Linked DNA regions of Homo sapiens: region 2 is linked to region 1. Evidence: promoter capture Hi-C in 16 types of primary human blood cells and fetal thymus (Javierre and others, 2016). All regions are on one chromosome and are shown on one strand. Each heading gives the region's core, a stretch centred on a gene start or on the middle of the fragment in contact. The rest is flanking DNA. Distances are from core to core; before and after follow the strand shown. Region 1 overlaps PEBP4 (phosphatidylethanolamine binding protein 4). Region 2 holds the start of CCAR2 (cell cycle and apoptosis regulator 2).

What was found. Contacts are between HindIII fragments. The CHiCAGO score rates a contact against its expected background, and 5 or more counts as called.
Region 2: the fragment with the promoter of CCAR2 here is called in contact with a fragment that was not itself captured in region 1 in 13 of 17 cell types (naive CD4 T cells, non-activated CD4 T cells, naive CD8 T cells and 10 more); the score reaches 10.8 in naive CD4 T cells.

Annotation. Positions count from the first base shown.
Region 1 is chr8:22,753,583-22,756,488 of GRCh38, reverse strand. All of the region lies in intron 4 of PEBP4 (phosphatidylethanolamine binding protein 4), which reads left to right. It overlaps LOC107986925 (a long non-coding RNA gene), which reads right to left. Exons shown (of 3, transcript XR_007060852.1): 1 at 1,627-2,906; 2 at 481-761. Among named protein-coding and RNA genes, the nearest start is that of EGR3, 62 kb to the right of the region's middle. RefSeq lists an enhancer at 1,317-1,426. The HindIII fragment of the contact is 743 bases long and covers 1,283-2,025 here.
Region 2 is chr8:22,603,402-22,606,174 of GRCh38, reverse strand. CCAR2 (cell cycle and apoptosis regulator 2) reads right to left here and starts at 1,418. Exons shown (of 21, transcript NM_001393997.1): 1 at 1,333-1,418; 2 at 344-439; 3 at 1-90. The coding sequence starts at 401. It overlaps C8orf58 (chromosome 8 open reading frame 58), which reads right to left. Exons shown (of 7, transcript NM_001013842.3): 7 at 2,033-2,773. LOC107986876 (a long non-coding RNA gene) reads left to right here and starts at 1,175. Exons shown (of 1, transcript NR_160769.1): 1 at 1,175-2,773. RefSeq lists silencers at 1,001-1,060, 1,121-1,420 and enhancers at 1,084-1,584, 1,591-1,700. The HindIII fragment of the contact is 4,257 bases long and covers 1-2,773 here.

The DNA of each region.
Region 1 (2,906 bases), core at 405-2,904:
GCGGAGAGATGCATCCAGCAGAGGGTGTGAGAATCAGCCACAACTGGCCGAGACTGTCGGAATTAGTCACCAGTGTTGACGAGGAGTTCAGTCGGTTACATAACAGCCTCCCTCGCTCACTGTTAGCTCTCCTGAGCTGGGGCTGTCCGGGGTTAAGGGTCTCTGGCAGGGAGGGTCACATCCTGGGAGCCCAGGGGCAGAGGTTCTCGCACAAGCCCGCCCTCCCCAGTCCTGCTCCAGCCCTGCGAGGCCAGAAGGAGGCGCCAGCTGTTCAGCTCCTGCCTGAGTCTTGCCACCTTGTCTCCAGACCATCCCACGCTAGCCTCGCAAGGCTGTCGCTCTGGCCTGAGCACAGAAGATGCTCAGACAAGGAGTTAAATATGGGTCTCAGCTCAGGGCAGCTCAGTAGCCAACTTCCCCGCTGAATCTATTATGATACATCATTATAATGATTATTATCAATAAGTATTTAGCGAGCACCTTTAGTTGTGTCCCCGTTGGAGGCATTGCAGGAGCTTCAAAGATGAATAAGATGCAGATGTACGGCAGCAGCAGGAGCTTGGGATTGCAATGCTTTTCCTCCAGAGGGGAGAGCGTGTTCAGAGAGAGGGACTCTAAGCAAGTGGCTCCGTTTTCTGAGTGAGGTCAGATTGAAACCCTGTGCAAAGGTTGGCACAGCCAGCCTCAACCCCAGATGCCCAGGATAGGGCGGGATTCTTGAGGCCAGTTTGCTTGCTGATGTACTTACCCACTGCACATGGCTGAAAAAAAAGAACAATAAATGTCTAACATTATCAGTAATGGATGGTGATGATGATGACAAAAATGATGTTAGAAAAGAGTATACAATTTTGCCCCAGCACGGTGGCTCACGCCTGTAATCCCACCACTTTGGGAGGCCAAGGTGGATGGATTACTTGAGGTCAGGAGCTTGAGACCAGACTGGCCAACATGGTAGAACCCCATCTCTACTAAAAATACAAAAATTAGCTGAGTGTGGTGGCGGGCACCTGTAATCCCAGCTACTCAGGAGGCTGAGGCAGGAGAAACGCTTGAACCCGGAAAGCAGAGGTTGCAATGAGCCGAGATCACGCCACTGCGCGGCAGCCTGGGTGACAGAGCATGACTCCGTCTCAAAAAAAAAAAAAAAAAAAAAAAAAAAGAGGGAGAGAAATGAGTATACGATTTTGGCCCAAAGCCCTGGGAACTTCAGCTCTTCCTTCCTGCCTATTGGCATTTCTGTTACACTCCGCTAGATAATAGAAAGCCAGGAGCAGAAGCTTGAGAAACATTTAAGAATCACTCAAGCAGATCTTTGGACTCCAGGCAAGACTCAACTAAATCATCCAAGAAGAGTCACCGTTATAGCAGCAGGTGAACTCAGGAGTGGTTTCGAAACCCGGGAGTGGAATAATGGCCTCTTGGGCCCTTCCCCACTTTCCCACACCTAAGTTAAGGGAAAGCCCCAGCCCAGGCTCTCAGGAGACAGTAATAACCACCAAGGGCCATATTCCCTCCTCATTAGCCTACCAGATTCACAGTAGTTAAGAGCCGGAAGGAGTCTCAGTCCAGCCCTCCCATTCTATAGATGAGAACACTGAGGCCCAAAGAGGAGAACTGACTCACCCAGGGCCACACAGCAGAGATGGGTCTCAAACTCCCACATCCTTTCATTGCACTGTGAAAACCAGAGAGAGGTGAGGGAGGGGAGAGATGTGGGGAAATTATCCACCTCCTGAGCCTGCAGAGGTCTGTGTGATCCATACTCCCTGCCTAGCTGGCTCAATATCAGGCAGATGACAGCTTCATGTGGAGGGAGACCAACCGCCCCAAGGAGGCCACACAAATGGCCATGAAGCCAAGTCAGGGTGTGCAGTTTCTAGAATGAGCCTTTCCTCTCTGCTTTGCTCCCTGAAAAGAGCAAAAGGCTCTCTCACTTCCAGGCCTGCTGGCAAATTTCTGATGAGAAATCTACTCCAGCTTCTAACTCCCAAAGATCTCCCAGGCATCTACTTGGGATAAGCTTTCCTAGCAATTTTTAAAGCCAATTAGAGAAAAATTAAGGAATTAAATAGAAAAATTTGTGTTGGTTAAGGTCATAAAATCATTCATTCACTCAACACACGTCTACAGAGTGAGGATTCAGTCACAGAGACAAGGTCTCTGATCTTAATACACCCGCAGTCCAGTAGGTAAGGTAGAAAAATGAGCAGTTATCCCAGGGACTTTCACAACTACGATGTAAGATACTGGAAGCACCAGGAGGGAGCACCCTGTGGGTGGGGCGGCCAGGGGTCTAGGGCAGCTTCCCAGAGGAACAGACATCAGACCCTGGGGCTTGGAGAGCCGCTGAAAGCCCAGAGCCCATCCTGAGAAAGATAAAATTTGATCTGTTTGCTTCCATTTTCCACTTTCTCTTCAACCCTCCTCTCCCTCCATCTGAACATACCCCATCAGCAACCCTCGTTCCTGCTCTATAGTCAGACTTTCCCATCTTCTTCCCCATTTGGGACCCTCAGCCCACACCCTCAGCCCACACCCTATCAAACATGTAGAATCAGCAGAGGTTGTGGGGAGGGGCCCCACTCACACCCAGACAGATGTGCTCTGTTCCCCGCACAGCTGTCCAGGCGGTAGCCCATCTGCGCTCACTTCCTGCCTCCCAGCTCCAGCCCCTCACACCTCCCACACAAGGGCGGGGAAGTCTGGTCCTGAGATTCATCCCAAAGCCAATGTTGAGGCGGCCACCAGCCCGGCAAAGCCCCAGACCCTGGCTCCCACCTTCCCCTCTCCTCCACAAGGAGTGGTGGACCAGGAAGGGCTTCAGCAAGGTGGAGACTTTGCCTAAGCCACTCTGGAGGACTCTGCCTTGAAGTTCAGCTTCAGTCTCTTGGCAGTTGTGGGAG
Region 2 (2,773 bases), core at 169-2,668, 150 kb after region 1:
GAAGGTGCCTGGCATTCTGGGACAGTTCTGTGGCCACAGGAGGAGTGAGCAAACCAGGAGGAGGGCCCAGAAGAGATGTTGAAGCTGTGCCTATGGGGAAAGAGAAGCAATCTCCAGGAACCGCCCCTACCACCTTAAGCACGAGTCAACCAAAGGATGTGGTAAATCCAAAGGCTACAGCTCCAGCCAGCTCCTCCACAGAGCTTCACTGGCAATCACTGTGGGCATCTCCTGCTTTCCAGAGGAACATCAGCAGCAAATTGCTCTCCACCAGGGAAACCCCAAACTAACTCCAGAGCACATACTTCCCAGGATGAGGCCAGGTAGGGAGAACAGTGATCACCTGAGAAGTTGCGTCCCCCTGGAAGCGGGTTGATCCGCTGGCGCTTAAACTGGGACATTGGGAACGCTGTCCTCTTTCAGAGTCGTGGGGAAAAGGCTTCAATCCAAAAAGAAAGAAATTAACAGCTTATAAGGGAAATTTCCATCTATACCCGGAAAAGTGGAGAATCTTAAGTAAGGATATTTCGGAAAACAGGGAGGTGGGTAATAAGAATGAATGAAAGCAATGGATGGAGAGAATATAGAGAAGAAAGAAATGAAACAAGAAATTACATTGTTCCAGTTTGCCCTGACAATAACCTAGTGGTGCATGATACTGTCATGCTGTTTTACAGACAAGGAAACTGATGCTCAGAGAGATCAAGAGACTTGCCCGGGGCCACATAACCAGGTAGTGACAAAACTGCTACTCACACCCAGGCCTCCCAACAACTTAGCGCTCCTCTCACTATGCCACGCCACCCCCAGAGTAGCTGGCGGGGTGAGGGGCTCGAGAGAGCCCCGATGACATTCCTTCGTTCAAAAACATCCGCCAAAACCCTCCACGCAAGGCCCGGAAAAATGGAGGAGGCCGGTGCCGGCGAGGAGACTGTGTGGGCCCTCTCCCCGGAAGCCCGACCCGTTGTTTCCTCGACCGGCTGGTGGGAAGGCAGCTCCCTGGCCGACCAAACGCGAAACCGGCTGCGCGCCACCCTCCTGCTCCCACGCTCCCGGGCCCTCCGCTCCGGCCTCAGCAGCCGCCAGCGCCGGGTCTCCCAGCAGAGCCGCGGCGAGGCCACCAAGGGAGGACTGAGGCGCGCGGTTTCTCCTCCTCCCGCCCGCCCCCAAGGCCGAGGCCGTTGCCAGGGAGACGGGACTTGCAGTCCAAAGAGGGGCTCGGCCCCTTCCGCGCCCCACGCATCTTCGCCGCCCGGCCCTCGCAGCCCCTCGGCCAGCGGAGGGGCGGAGGGGCGAAGGGGCAGAGGGGCGGCAGGGGGCCCCCCAACCCACCTGCGGGCCAGGGCAGCGACACCGGGGGGACAAAGACACCCGGAACCACCACAGCCGCTGCTGCCGCCGCCACCGGAAGCGCCTCTCCGGAAGCGCGACCACTGGTCGGAAGCTGCCGCTCTCCCGGATATGGTCCCTCCCTCGTCTCCGCCGACCTCTCCCTTCCCCCACGCCGGCTTGCCATCCCGCGGCAACTGGGGAGCGGAAGTGCGCCTTCCCGGATCGGATGCGCGTCAGGAAGTCGCGCCTCGGTAGTGTCCTCGCTAAAGAATCCCATCAGGAAAGAAGGCTTCGGATCATTGGTTCCGGGCTCAAAGGAAGCGGGAGCTGGGCCCCCCAAACACAAGGGACCCCCGACTGCCTACCACGCTCGCCTCCCTCTGGCAGTCGAGACTGCAACAGATAAGGAAACCAGCCCCTCCTGACTGGAGGAGAAGGATGCCTATCAGTGACCATTTCTAAGAGACATTCCTGGTCTGACTCAAGCCAGTGACCACCATGCCTAGCCAGTCAGGAATCAGTGCCCTAATTCTCAAATATGAAATCTAAGAGGCCTCAATGAAATGACCTGCTCAAAATCTTGCCAGGAGACTGGCCATTTTAGTCCCCATTAGCAATCCCAGCCCCCCCTTATCCTCCGACCTCCCCATCATCACTCCAGCCTTACTTTCCCCTTTCCTATTCACCTGAGGTTTACAAAGCACTTTGAGGCAGTTTAATCTCACTTTATCCTCATAACAAGTCTGTGAGGTAGATAGGGCAGGCATCATTATTCCCAGCGGGAAGCTGTGGCTCAGAAAGGTTGACTTGGGGTCTAAAAACTAGTACAGGCATCTGGTTTGAATTAAGACCTGTAAACGCTAGTACGGAGCAGAGAAGCTGAGCACTGGCTTTGAAAGTTATTCAGTTCCCAGGTTGTCCCTGATCTTCCTCATTCCTTGTGCAGTCTTCAGGAGTCCGGGGCAAGATTCCATGCAGAGGCAGCCAAAGCCACACCGTTCTCTGTCCCAGGGCTGCCAGCATGGCTCTGAGGAGGAAAGCTCAGTAACTGCCCACTGGGGAATAAAGGTCAGTTCCATCCTTCTGCAGTGACCTCCCCCAGAATATCAACCCTTTGGATGCATTATTTCAGAAGAGATGGTTGGATCCAGCCAGCTTGCAACACTGACAGTCACACAGAGATATGCATACCATTGCGCATAAATACACATCTGCAACATGCTGGGCCCAGACAGGTCACCATGCCAAAAACACTCCACGGACACCTGACAATGAGTGAGTTCACATTGTGGAAGCCCAGGGATTTCTGGTGAGGAGGAAGAGCCCTGGAGCTGCGGCATCTTGGGGGCCTCTCAAGAAACCAAGGTTCCTGACCAGACTGCTTAGAGGAGAAAGATTCAGCCCTCGACTCAAGAGAGGAGGGCAGGCGTCAGCAGCTTTT